5 separate regions of the Homo sapiens genome follow, and all the other regions are linked to region 5. Evidence: promoter capture Hi-C in 16 types of primary human blood cells and fetal thymus (Javierre and others, 2016). All regions are on one chromosome and are shown on one strand. Each heading gives the region's core, a stretch centred on a gene start or on the middle of the fragment in contact. The rest is flanking DNA. Distances are from core to core; before and after follow the strand shown.

The links. Contacts are between HindIII fragments. The CHiCAGO score rates a contact against its expected background, and 5 or more counts as called.
Region 1: a fragment that was not itself captured here is called in contact with the fragment with the promoter of KRT72 in region 5 in 1 of 17 cell types (total CD8 T cells); the score reaches 6.6 in total CD8 T cells.
Region 2: a fragment that was not itself captured here is called in contact with the fragment with the promoter of KRT72 in region 5 in 9 of 17 cell types (total CD8 T cells, M2 macrophages, naive CD8 T cells and 6 more); the score reaches 7.6 in total CD8 T cells.
Region 3: a fragment that was not itself captured here is called in contact with the fragment with the promoter of KRT72 in region 5 in 2 of 17 cell types (M0 macrophages and M2 macrophages); the score reaches 5.6 in M0 macrophages.
Region 4: a fragment that was not itself captured here is called in contact with the fragment with the promoter of KRT72 in region 5 in 3 of 17 cell types (total CD4 T cells, M2 macrophages and total CD8 T cells); the score reaches 5.6 in total CD4 T cells.

Annotation. Positions count from the first base shown.
Region 1 is chr12:52,821,544-52,824,243 of GRCh38, reverse strand. KRT79 (keratin 79) reads left to right here. Exons shown (of 9, transcript NM_175834.3): 5 at 1-46; 6 at 232-357; 7 at 1,008-1,228; 8 at 1,865-1,899; 9 at 2,167-2,700. The coding sequence ends at 2,372. Among named protein-coding and RNA genes, the nearest start is that of KRT4, 8.8 kb to the right of the region's middle. The HindIII fragment of the contact is 288 bases long and covers 1,208-1,495 here.
Region 2 is chr12:52,803,264-52,805,963 of GRCh38, reverse strand. No RefSeq gene overlaps it. Among named protein-coding and RNA genes, the nearest start is that of KRT3, 8.5 kb to the right of the region's middle. The HindIII fragment of the contact is 4,113 bases long and covers 1-2,700 here.
Region 3 is chr12:52,371,012-52,373,711 of GRCh38, reverse strand. No RefSeq gene overlaps it. Among named protein-coding and RNA genes, the nearest start is that of KRT85, 4.9 kb to the right of the region's middle. RefSeq lists a cis regulatory region at 933 and an enhancer at 849-1,018. The HindIII fragment of the contact is 4,826 bases long and covers 1-2,700 here.
Region 4 is chr12:52,784,628-52,787,327 of GRCh38, reverse strand. No RefSeq gene overlaps it. Among named protein-coding and RNA genes, the nearest start is that of KRT76, 8.6 kb to the right of the region's middle. The HindIII fragment of the contact is 6,807 bases long and covers 1-2,700 here.
Region 5 is chr12:52,600,147-52,602,846 of GRCh38, reverse strand. It overlaps KRT72 (keratin 72), which reads left to right and starts at 1,384. Exons shown (of 9, transcript NM_080747.3): 1 at 1,384-1,820. The coding sequence starts at 1,395. The HindIII fragment of the contact is 8,078 bases long and covers 1-2,700 here.

The sequences.
Region 1 (2,700 bases), core at 102-2,601, 220 kb before region 5:
TGCCCAGAGGAGCCGGGCTGAGGCCGAGGCCTGGTACCAGACCAAGGTGAGAGGCATAGCTGGCTCAGGTGTGAGGCCTGGGGTCGGATCAGATCTCCCATCGTGAGAGGCTTGGGCCTCTGGGACCCTTGGAGTCCGGGGGGCCAGATATACTCAACTTGCATGGGGCCTCCAGCTGTGAGGGTGGGCTGGGGCCATTTGAAAGCGCACTGCCACTTCTTTGGTCCCCAGTATGAGGAGCTGCAGGTGACTGCTGGGAAGCATGGGGACAACCTGCGGGACACCAAGAACGAGATTGCTGAGCTCACCCGCACTATCCAGAGGCTGCAGGGGGAGGCTGATGCAGCCAAGAAGCAGGTGGGACTCTACTGGGGGCTTGGGGGTCTGGCCTAGGTGTTGGCAGGGCCTTCTCATTGTCACCCCGAGGGGCTAGGCCTGCTCTTCTCCTGACGGACACAATAGAATGCTAGGCCATTGATCACAGGCTCCTTTTACATGGGGGGAAACTGAGGCACAGAGCAGGAAGGAGCTTGTCCAACGTCACATGGTATATGAGTGGTAGAGCAGGTGGGACAACCTTCTCCAAGGAAACTGATCCATCCCATCTCCAGGAAGTCAGAACAGGAGGTAGAGGGTTCAAGGGGCCAGGTCACAGATGCTGATGCCGACTCCACCTTTAGAACGGCTAAAAAGTGTGGGTTCTTTCACAGATTAGAATGAAGCACCTGGTTACTAATAAGGCTGTGTTATTTATTTCATCTCTTCTGAGGCATTGGGCTGATCTGCAGCAGGAGGGGTTGAGGTTAGACTTCAGTAAGGACTTTCCCAGTGGCCTTACTTGATCCTGCTTGTGTAATAGCATCTCTTCAGATGAATATTTCTCTTCTCTCTTTCCCAGCTGGTTGGGGGCAGGGATGTGGGAATGATGATGTCTCCATGGCTTGAGGGCAGAGAGATGAATGGGATGACCCCGGAGGGTGCTTCCAACACCTTTCTCCCCTGGGCAGTGTCAGCAGCTGCAGACGGCCATTGCGGAAGCGGAGCAGCGTGGGGAGCTGGCACTCAAGGATGCTCAGAAGAAGCTTGGGGATCTGGATGTGGCCCTGCACCAGGCCAAGGAGGACCTGACACGGCTGCTGCGTGACTACCAGGAGCTGATGAATGTCAAGCTGGCCCTGGACGTGGAGATTGCCACCTACCGCAAGCTTCTGGAGAGCGAGGAGAGCAGGTGGTGGCCCCTCCTGCCCGACCCAGAAAGCTGGGTCGGGCCTGCCCTGGGGGAGAGCCCAGGGAGTCTGCTCCGGGGTCAAGAGAGGGAGAGAGGAACCAGGGAGCAAGATCCTGACTCACGCGGGGGGAAAATCTGCTTGTGCCCACTGCCTCCATCACTCCTCTCCTTGGTTGGCACAACTCTTGTTAATCTTTACTGTGGCTGACAGCCCGGTAGGAATGGAACTTCCTCTTCCACCAGCAGATTTCACCAGCAGTGGAAGCTTTGGAAAAAAAAATCCACCATCTCTGTCCTTAGGAAAAGCATGAAATAGAAAGTGGGCAGAAACTAGGCAGCTCTGTCTGGTCGTGGGCTTGTTTCCATTGGGGCAGGGATGCTGTCCGTAGCCCACATGGGCAGAGAGGAAAGAAAAGGGGAGGATGGGAGTTGGCACAGCCTACTGGTGGCTCTGCCCTTTCTGCAGCACTGGCTTTTGGACCTGGGCACAGCCCTATACACATACTTCTCATGTTTCCTGGTCTTGTCATCAGGATTCACTGAGTGGATCCAATGTAAAGGCAGAGGGAAGGAGAGGGTTTTCATGTGGGCACCAGGGATAACTGACTGCTCTCCTGGCCTTTCTGTGTCCCCTAGGATGTCTGGAGAATGTCCCAGTGCAGTCAGCATTTGTGAGTATTTACTCCCCACTTCCTGCTCCACCCCTGGCCAGGCCCCAGAACTCTGCTCAGTTTATGCAACCTGTACCTGTCCTAAAGCATGCTCTCCTCCATTCGAGCCCCTGGAGACAGGTTCAGAGGGTCCTAGTTCTGGGCTTCTCTATCCATTTCCCATAGCTCTGCTGCTTGATTTTGTTCTGATTCCCCACTGATTTCTGGGTCTCCCCCAGCCCTCTCTGGCATGGCCGCCCTGACTAATCCAGACCCTTTGCTTTGCAGCTGTGACTGGCAACTCCACCACTGTGTGCGGAGGTGGCGCAGCCAGCTTTGGAGGTGGCATCTCCCTGGGTGGGAGTGGGGGGGCCACCAAGGGTGGATTCAGCACAAATGTGGGCTATAGCACCGTCAAGGGAGGGCCAGTCTCTGCGGGCACCTCCATCCTGCGGAAGACCACTACGGTCAAGACGTCCAGCCAGAGGTATTAGCTGCTGAGCCCTGCAAGGGCCCCTGCAATCCTGTCCCTGCCCTCCTCACCCCACCTCTGCTGTCCTTTCCAGTCACTTCTCAGGAGCAGGAACAGCCAGGGGACCTCAGACCCAGGGTATTTTCATACCAGACTATTTGCATCTTGGGAAGCGCTCAAATCTACTCAGGTTTTCTCCTTGGTCCTGCAGTAGGATGGGAGGGAAGGTTAAAGTTGCCAGCTTGAGTGATGTGCTTGGGTGACTTGGGGGTGACCTTTTGACCACCGAGAGGAGGCTGAATTTCTCAAGCCATTAGGAGAGAGAGAAATTGGGAGTGGTCCCCAAAGAC
Region 2 (2,700 bases), core at 130-2,629, 200 kb before region 5:
TGAGCTGCTCACTTCCCCAGCTCCTCAGGGGTGCCTGGGGTTATGTCTGTGGTGCTGTCCCTGAGTGGCGAAGAATGTTGGAGGTGGAGCAGGTCTTCTGGAGCAGGAGTGGAGGGAGCTGTCTAATTACAGAAGCGGGGAGAGGACAGTCAGAGGTGGGGGTCTGGGTAGATTTGGGGACACCCTTTTTCTATATTGGACCAATTCCAAGTACCTGGAGCAGCACAGTCTCCCCTCTTCCAAAGATTTCCCAGCTCCTGCTCTGCAGTCTGACTCGAATCAGTTTGCTGCAGATGCAGAATGCACTCTCTGCCTTGGCCACCCTACTGTGCCTCCCACCCTTGACTGCCGCAGAGTTCATTCAGACTCCAGTTCCTCCAGCCCTGTGTCCATGGGGCCTCATGGTGTGCAGGCAGAAAGGCACGTCGTTTGCCCAAGACCAGTCCTTGCCCATGGGAGTCTCGTGCAGATCCAAGGTAGGCTCAGGGTTGTTCTGCCTTTGGGAAAGCGGGGACAGAGTAGCAAAGGGTTAATCTCAGGGGCTTGTGCTCTCTGGGCAGGGGACTTTGCCAGGAGCAACCTGGGCTCTGTCCTTCATCAGCCTGGCCCTAATATCCCCATTGTCTTAGGGCTCATTGAGCCCCATGTGTCAGAACAGGAAGTCTCTGCAGCTGCATTTGGTGGCTTTGGCTTCTTCCAAGGGCTGCACTCCTCCCCTGGCAAAATGCAGATGGGCTCTTTTTTTTTTTTTTTTTTGAGTTTCTGGGAGTGGTGAGGAGGAGTTAAAGGTTGGAACTAGGGGTGGAGCTTCTCAGGTTCACCCACCAGGAGGCTGCAGGTTGTGTTGGGCCTCACAGAGAGGCAAGGGGCAGGTTAAAGCATTTCTCATGCCCCCTGAGTGTGGGAGCAGCCAGCCTGAGCAGCCCTCCGTGCCTCTCAGCATCTCTTTGGTTGAACTCAGTGATTTACACTGCAAGGTCAGGCCGTAGATTATACGCGTGTATGTGCATCTTAGAATAAATGTGTTTGTATTCATAGGCACATGGCTATGTGAGTGTGTCAGCGTTTCTTATTTATATAAAAAGTCTCTTAGGTCGGGCACGGTGGCTCACACCTGTAATCCCAGCATTTTGGGAGGCCAAGGGGGGCGGATCATGAGGTCAACAGATCGAGACCATCCTGGCCAACATGGTGAAATCTCGTCTCTATTAAAAATACAAAAATTAGCCTGGTGTGGTGGCAGGCGCCTATAATCCCAGCTACTCGGGAGGCTGAGGCAGGAGAATCCCTTGAACCCAGGAAGCAGAGGTTGCAGTGAGCCGAGATCACACCACTGCACTCCAGCCTGGCGACAGAGTGAGACTCTGTCTCAAAAAAAAGTCTTCTATTTTACATAAAAAGGAAAAGCCCTCATGTTGGTCTCTGTTTCTAGAACAGTCCAGGAGAGTGGATCCTGGCCTTGATTCATATGTTTGAAACTGGCTGGCTAGTCAGAGGGGATTATTTGGGGTAAATATACTGCTGAGATAATAGACACCACCCTTCTCTCTGATCCTTCGAATTGGATTCTGGCCAGCTCCTAGTGCTTAGGAAACAGGGAGACATGGCTTGCATTATTTACCCCGTTGGAGGCCCCATGCTCTCCCTTTTCTTTTAAATCCTTTACCTCTAAGTATACGGAAATCACTTTTCACATCTGAAGAGCCCAACTGCAGGTTGGCAAATCTCTAACTTGGTTTATTTGGCTCATCTGCCCTGACTCCATTCCCCAAGATCTTGGCTCCCAGCCCTGGCTGCAGCCCCACCATCACTTTGGCTCAGGCACCTGTCAACTCCTGAACAACTGCTATGTTTGCATAGATCCCTCCCACCTCACCAAGACCCTCCGCTCTGGGTTCAGCCCTCTCAGTTCCAGAAAGTTCTCACCAATACTTCTGAAGTCTCCCTACCTCGTTGCTAGTAAACCCAGAAGGTTATAGCAAAGAGGGGCTTATTTCATGTCCCACTGTGGGGTTTTGTTTTAACTTGCTGACGGGGCCCAGGCTTTGTGTTCTAAGACCAGAGGACCTCAGAATAAGGCATGGCTGCTCCCATGTCTTGGGTGGATGTTCAGGGTTTAGTGAGACAGCTACGTGGGGAAATAGTTGAGGGGGCTGTGCCCCCTTTGTGGGCCCTCAGGACATGGTAACAGTGGGCCAACGAGGGACAAAGGGAGGGAGCAGGCTGAAAGGAAAAAAGCCATTTTAGCACCTGTTCCATTTTTTTTCCCGTGTTGATGGTAGGGTCTGAACAGTCATCTCGTTATTCCACTAAGAGGGCTGGGAGTGTAGAGTTGTGGCCATGAAGGGTCTTGGTGGTGGGAGCCCCAGGACTCAGGCTCATTGCTGCCCATGGTTTTCTGGTTTGGCTTTGGGTCAAGGTAGGATTGTTCTGCATCTGCAGTTTTTTTACTTTGAGTGTTGTGGATTTGATCCTTAAAAATTCGAGAAAGTGGGTGAGAAGCTAGATAAGCTGGGAAGACATTTTCTGGAGAAAGTGTTTGGACTGTCATTTGCCATCCACCCATTCATCCATCTACTCATCCATCCGTCCATCCATCCATCCATCCATCCATCCATCTATGATCCATCCATCATCCATCTATTCATCCATCCATCCACCCAGCCATTCACTCATTTACTCAACAAACCACTAGTCTAT
Region 3 (2,700 bases), core at 120-2,619, 230 kb after region 5:
GACTTTAGGAAGGTTGCAGGATGCAAGGTCAATATACAGAAATCAATTGTATTTCTATACACCAGCAATGGAAATTAAAAAATTGTTGAAATATCATTTCCAATAGTACCATTTAATTCCAAAGGATAAATACTTAGGCATAAACCTTTAAAAAGTATATGAGGATCTGTATGCTGAAAACTACAAAACATTAATGAAAGAAATCAAAGAAAACTTAAATAAATAGAAAGATATACTGTGTTAATGAGCTGGAAGACTCAATATTATTAATATGTCAGTTATCTCCCAGAGATGACATAGGGGTCAAACCCATGGACAAGGGCACAGGCAGACCTGAGTTCAATCCCAGGTCTTCCACTTACTGGCTGCGTGACCAAAGGTAATGAGAGGTAACAATAATACCTAACATATGTTGAACTGAGTAGTGTTCCAAATAATTCTCACAGGTTAACTCATTTTATTCTTTCAATATCCTTAGGTGGTAGGTGCTTTTATTATTTCCCATTTGACAGATGACAAAACTGAGGCCCAGAGAGGTTAAATAAGTGGTGAGGCACAGGAGCTCTGACTCCTGAGCCCATGCTCACCACCACTGTGCTGTTCTGCCTGTCACGTAATCTCAATACGCCTCTTGCCTCATTTGTAAAATGGAAAAATATGTCGTACCTCAAAGAGATGTGGGGATGACATGCAATGGTAATCCAAGGTGCTTGGCACTCAACCTGGCCCACAGTGGGTACACAATTGCTTCAGTAGTGGTGGTGGTGGTGGTGTTTCTCTTTTGTCAATGAACAATAGCTTTGTCAGCAGCTCAGCCACTCCAGTACCAACCACAGGTGGATGCAGAAGCGTCAGGGACTGTCTCCAGCTTCCAAAGATCTGGAAACCAGAGCCAGCTGCAGGCAGATCCCTGGCCTTCTCTGCTTCTGCCACGACTGAACTGCTGCCAGGCCAGCTGTGGGAATTTGCTGCCCTCTTCTGGCCACCAACTTCGGACAAGAAGGCGTAGGAGATTTTCAAAGCAGGCTACCAGCAGGATTGGCTTGTGCAATATAGCAAGGAGAGGAGGGAGCTTAGAGTCTTGTAAAACCATTTTGTTTTTCTCCAGATTTGTAATTAGGACACAAACATAAAAACAATAAGTAACAGCTTTTAAAAATAAATCTATCTCCTTTCTCACCAGCCCAACCCAGCCGTTTTCACCGTTCTGTGTTCTTTGTCTCCATGGGTATTCAGAAAACCACAGCCTTGAAGCAGGAAAGAGCCAGGGAGGGGTCTTAGTCCCATGGCTTTCAAACTGCATGTGTTCCTCGGGGCTCAAGGGCCAAGGCTTCCCACAAGCTGTCATTTTCTGCCAAACCTCAAATATCTAAAGTATCCAAGATAGCCATTCATTTATACATTCATCAGTCAACAATATTTACTGAGCACTTACTATATTCCCAGCACTTTTCTAGGTGAACAAAATGAACAAAACAGACAAAATCTCTGCTTCCATGGAGTTTACTTTGGGGTGATGGGAAAAACAGACAATAATCCACAAATAGAATAAATAAGTAAATTCTGGACTGTGTTAAGTGTGATGGAAAAATAAATAAATAAGAGCAAGATAAGCTGGATGGAGAGTGCCCTGGGGTGGAGGGCAGGTTGCCATTTTTTTAAAGGGTCAGAGAGATGGTATAGGGGCAAAGCCCTGCAGGAGGCAATGGGCAAGCCACTTGGATGACAGGGGAGCATTTGGGTGGAAGAGACAGCAGGGCACAGGCCCTGAGTCAGGAGTGCACCCTGTCCTGGTGCTCCAGTGGGAGGTCACTGTGGTTGCTGAACACAGGGAGACCGGTGACAAAGGCCACAACACAGACAGGCAGTGCAGGGCCTTGTTGGCCATTGTTAGGACTCCAAGCAAAATGGGGAATTGGGTGTTTGAGCAGGGTAGAGACATGATCCAACTTATGTTTTACGGGGCTTACTCTCCTCGGCTGAGAATGGAGTTGGAGGGCCAGGGGCAAACAGGGAGACCAGCATGTCAATCTTATCTATTCTATAACTACATAAGTAAATACATGGCTTTATATAGCTGTTTTCCTCCTAGGATTTGGGGAGATGGCTCAACTGCCAAAAAGAAAAGAAAGAAAACATTTCAAAACCATTCATGCAGTACATTCCTGAAATCAGAGGCTCTGTAACGACTGAGCCACTGCTCTGATCCCGAGTAACCATGGAAAACAGCAAAGCACCAGGGAATGCTGCCAATAGGAAGGCACGTGGACAGAGTTCGGGAGGAGAATGGAGTTTCTTGGAGTTGCCGTGGAGCAGGCCAGGGAGCAGCTGTGTCAGCTGGGCACGGAACCCCGCCATGACACACTGGAGAACGTAGAGTTGCTCTGACCCTCCTTTCTCTCACTTAGGGTCCCTGAATCATGCCCAAGTCTTGTGAAAGTCAAAGAGAGGGAAAGAGGGCTAAGAAGAGCCTCCAAGAGCTGCGTCTCAGCAGCGGCAGTGGCGTAGCCTTAGATGCATAATAAAAGTGTGGCCAGCAGAGGCAAAGGGCGGTACCCAGTTTGAATCAGCTGTGCAGGCCTTGTCCATGGGGAGCCCATCAGGACTGACTGAGGGGGACCAGCCCACTAGGAGGGATGGGAAGACAACCCACAAGAGCCCAGGCAGGCACAAACACAAAACTGGGAGGACAGACAGTGC
Region 4 (2,700 bases), core at 198-2,697, 180 kb before region 5:
AGAGGCTATTTCTTGGAGATGTCATTGTTCCAGAGGAATGGCCAGGGCAGGTTACCTTGGTGCCAGGACCTAGGACCCAAGGAGTTAACTCCATGCTTGGCTGGATATTCTCAGCCCAGCACTGACTGTTTCTTTCTTTCTTTATTTTTTGAGATGGAGTCTCCCTATGTCACTCAGGCTGTAGTGCAGTGGCACTATCTTGGCTCACTGCAACTTCTCCCTCCTGGGCTCAAGTGATTCTTGTGCCTCAACCTCCTGAGTAGCTGAGATTATAGGTGCAAGCCACCAAGCCCAGCTAATTTTTGCATTTTTAGTAGAGATTGCCATGCTGGCCAGGGTGGTTTCTAACTCCTGACCTCAGGTGATCCGCCCGCCTCTGCCTCGCAAAGTGCTGGGATTACAGGCATGAGCCACCGCGCCCTGCCAGGCCCTGACTGTTTCTAATCCAGGCTGAAAACCCCTTGCAGGGAACTTCACCTGCTTCTCAGTGCTCCTTCTTTTCCTTTGCCTTAGCATTTGCATAGTTTTTTTGCACAATTCTATGTTGACTTTTCAAGAGCTCTTAAGTCACTGGGCTTGAGTTTGCTTTCTTGTACTTGACTAGACTTTTCATTCTTCTAGTACATAGTGAGTCCTGTGTTGTCCATGCTTTTCCTGTCCTCTAAGGCATACTTTTGCCCACAAAGAGCTCACAGTGATTGTTGAATAATGCCTACTTGTGAGCCTGGATCCTAAACTGGGATTTGGGGTCTTTGGCCAATGGTCAAGAATTTCTTTGCTCTCTCTTCCACATCTCTCTTTCCTGGGTGTGGAGAGGTATATCCACTTGCAATGAAAAAGAGGAATCAACTTCTTTTTTTTTCTTTCTTTCTTTATTATTATTATACTTTAAGTTTTAGGGTACATGTGCACAATGTGCAGGTTAGTTACATATGTATACATGTGCCATGCTGGTGCGCTGCACCCACTAACACGTCATCTGGCATTAGGTATATCTCCTAATGCTATCCCTCCCTCCTTCCCCTACCCCACAACAGTCCCCAGAGTGTGATGTTCCCCTTCCTGTGTCCATGTGTTCTCATTGTTCAATTCCCACCTATGAGTGAGAATATGCGGTGTTTGGTTTTTTGTTCTTGCTATAGTTTACTGAGAATGATGATTTCCAATTTCATCCATGTCCCTACAAAGGACATGAACTCATCATTTTTTATGGCTGCATAGTATTCCATGGTGTATATGTGCCACATTTTCTTAATCCAGTCTATCATTGTTGGACATAGAGGAACCAACTTCTACCCTACGCCTCTATCTATCTATCTATCTATCTATCTATCTATCTATCTATCTATCTATCATCATCTATCCCCTCCAACCACCCCCACACTGTCTTCCCCAGAAGAAATGCTCAAAAGAGTGTTTTCCTGTTCTAAGAGCTTGCGGACTCACTGGTTCACTTCCCATTAGGAAGACCAAGTTGTGTTTTTAGATTTCAGGTTTTCCTTCTATATCTTTGTGAGAATACAGGCTACATGTCAGAGCAAGTATCAGTGGTAACAGTGTCACACCTATGAAAGGCTCAGTTAAGGAAATCAGAGGGTTGTTTTCCACAAGAATTTGAAAGTAGTTCAGCGCTTGCCTATGGATAATCTAGACTTGACTGCTGATGATCAAGTTTTGCATGTAACGTTTTGTGTAATTTGCAGGTAAATCTCTACATGACTCTTCTCTGTTTTGCCTAGAACTGGGTGGAGTGTTTGTTAGCCAAGCATCAGAGATCTCACTTTCTGGGATTTGGACTGCCTCTTCTCTCTGCCTTCTCAGCACTTCAGCCCATGTGTATTCTCCCTCTATGCAAAGACAAAGACAAAGACAAAAAGTGTGGGAACCTTGAGATAATCTTGGGATGACCGAGAAAAACTCACTTAAGTTCTGAAAATGCTTCTTCACACATTTTATCTGAATCTTCACTACATCCTTCACAAGCCCTTCTGGCATACACATTGTCTAACACACATCTCTGTTGTGCCTAAGATAGAGCTAATCCCCATCAACACTTCCAGTCCAGGCTGAAGGCTGAAGGTGACTTGGCTCTCCTAGGGAACCATTGATGGAGGTGTGCTGGGAGAATCTGATACTTTTGGAATCTGTGGTGATGAGACTGAATGGTGACAGCTCCGTCAACCACTGGAGAAGACGGTGGCAGGAGAAGGTGACTCTAGGTGGAACTAATGCTGTGACTCTCAGTGGGGGCAATTTTGCTCCCCAGGGAACATATAGCAATGTCTAGTGACATTTTTGGTTGTCACAAGTCGGGGAGTGCTACTGGCATCTAGAGAGTAGAAGCCAGGTTGCTACTAAACATCCCACATCACACAAGCCAGCCCCCTTCAACATATAAACAGCCAGCCTCAAATGTCCACAGTGCCACTGCAGAGAAAGCTGTGCCAAACAAGAGGTCGTCTCATTCATTTCTCTCCTTGGGAGAAGATCTTTAGTTACAGTGATATGGGTTATAGTTGAACTGGATAGAGATCCTTGTGGATTTGAGGGAAGTATGTATTTGTAGAAGTTTTTTTTTTTTTTTTTTATGAGATGGAGTCTCGCTCTGCCACCAGGCTGGAGTGCAGTGGCATGATCTCAGCTCACTGCAACCTCCACCTCATGGGTTTAAGTGATTCTCCTGCCTCAGCCTCCCGAGTA
Region 5 (2,700 bases), core at 135-2,634:
AGTGGAGGCTATGTCAGCCAATTACCCCCAGGTACCATTTAACCAACCCATGAGGTCCCCAAGGGGAACCCAGCCTTCAGGGTATCACTGAAGGTGCAGTAACAAGCCTTGCCCTAAGCACTCTGCTGTTTCACAATCATCCTAAATGTCCCTTTGGCCAAGGCCTGGGCTGAGCACTGGGGGAGCAGAGGAGGGAAGGGTGAATCCAGGGGGCCCTGTCAATCTGATAGAGGAAATGGAACACACACCCAGGACTCTGGCAGCTTAAGAAATAAGAGCAATGAAATAATCCCACCTGCATGCCAGAGGAACAGGAGAGCTGTTGCTAAGAGAGGAGGAGACTTGAAGGCAGCTTAAGTTTGAGAAAAGGAAATCGGGTTAGGTGGAAGAAGGAGCCTCTGTAGCTTAAAGGGAATGAAGTTCTAGAATCTAGTTCTTGGTTTTAGATCTGAAGAGTCTTGACCTCTTCCTAATAACTGATCACATTTTGATGCTGAATCAGAAATGACTGGGTGGCAAATGACCTGAGCAGAGGTTTGCTGGATGGGATAAATAAGCCTCTTCTGCTATTAAAAGAAAACAAAAATGAAAACAACCGAAAGCCTTAGGAAACACCATCTGCTAAACCATGCCTGAGTCTTCCTGTACCACCTCCCCAGGCCTTCTTCCCTCCCTCCCAGATAGCATGGTCCCCATTCTTAGTCCAGAAATGCTTAGTGGAGAAATCTTTTCGCTCTGGTCCAAAGTCAACCCTCAACACTTGTGACCAGAGGTCTCTGTGTCCTGCCTTCTCCAACAGACTGAGAGGTCTCTGCAGACGGGGCCAAAATCTCCTCCTTCTGAACTTCCTTCTTGCACAAGGGACAGAGCTGTCCTCATCCAGAAGCCTGGGAGGCAGGAGGAGGACAGGCTAAGGATGATTTTCTGCGATAGTCTTGACTCTATTCATGGCCTTCTGAAGCAGAAGCAGCCTGGACTTCTGCTTCACACACCTCCGTCTCCCCAGACACACACCCAGAGGGTCAGCCCCACTGGAAGTTTCCAGGGGTGATCTTGGGAGTGATAACCCCAGTAATTGGAGGCCAGCAGGTGGAGATAAGGTCGCTAAGCCATGATAATGCAGGAGGTGAGCCAAGTAAATGCTGGGTTCTGGGTCACTTTACAGGGATTCATGGGGAGTTCACGGTGGAACAGACAAAAATCTCGGTGAGTGCATGGTAATTTCCTACATGAAGAACCCAAGAGGCCTCAAGGGATCTAAAAGGTGTTGTCGACATACAAATTAGGCTGACTCCAGCCAGCCAGGCTATTTAAGGGGCGAGCTGGGCCGAGAACGCAGCGGCTGTTTGCGCCCCTTCTGCCTCCCGCGCGGCCAGCACCGGTACTTGCGAGCCATGAGCCGCCAACTGACCCATTTCCCCCGCGGGGAGCGCCTGGGCTTCAGCGGTTGCTCCGCGGTCCTCTCTGGCGGGATCGGCAGCAGCTCCGCCTCATTCCGGGCCCGGGTCAAGGGCTCGGCCTCCTTTGGCAGCAAGAGCCTCTCCTGCCTTGGGGGCAGCCGAAGCCTGGCGCTCAGCGCTGCTGCACGGCGGGGCGGCGGCCGCCTGGGCGGCTTCGTGGGCACCGCCTTCGGCAGCGCCGGGCTGGGGCCCAAGTGTCCCTCCGTGTGCCCACCCGGGGGCATCCCTCAGGTCACCGTCAACAAGAGCCTCCTGGCCCCGCTCAACGTGGAGATGGACCCCGAGATCCAGAGGGTGCGCGCCCAGGAGCGGGAGCAGATCAAGGCGCTAAACAACAAGTTCGCCTCCTTCATCGACAAGGTGAGTCCTCGGGCATTGGCCTGTCCCTGCGTTGGGCGCATGTGCACAGTGGTGCTGGCTCTGCCACTGGCGAGCTGTGTGGGAGCGTGGGCGGGTCATAACCTCTCCGAGCCTCCCTTTTCCATTTGTAAAATGGGCACAATAATGGGTCTTACTCCAGTGGGTTGCGATGAGGCTTAATTGGGATGTTTACGAAGTGCTCAGAACAGTGCCTGGCACATACTTCCAATAAACAGGATGTATTAGCCCATTTTCATGCTGCTGATAAAGACATACCCGAGACTGGGAAAAAAAAAAAGAGGTTTCATTGGACTTACAGTTCTCCATGGCTGGGGAGGTCTCAGAATCATAACGGGAGGCCAAAGTCACGTCTTATATGGCGGCGGCCAGAGAAAAATGAGGCAGAAGCAAAAACGGAAACCCCTGATAAACGCATCAGATCTCGTGATACTTATTCACTATTAGGAGAATAGCAGGAGAAAGACCGGCCCCTATGATTCATTTACCTCCCCCCTGGGTCCCTCCCACAACACGTGGGAATTCTGGGAGACTTAATTCAAGTTGAGATTTGGGTGGGGACACAGCCAAAACGTATCAAGGACCTTCATTTCTTTCTTGCATGAGACAAGACTGTGAGAAGGGAGGGGTCAGGATGTCCAAGGAATGGGCACTTTGAGAGCTCCCAATATCAGAAGAGGAGATGGGACCCACATTCAGGGCAGGGCATTAGGAACAGAGGCCAAGAGACGTTGCAGGACATGGTGCTTGGTGCTTGAGGAGTGGGGTAAGTGTGTAGCCAGGAAGATGATAGAGGAGGTGAGAGAAAAGGGCCAGAAAACTGAAGGGTGAGGCTGAGGAGGCACTTGGAAAGAGTGCATGT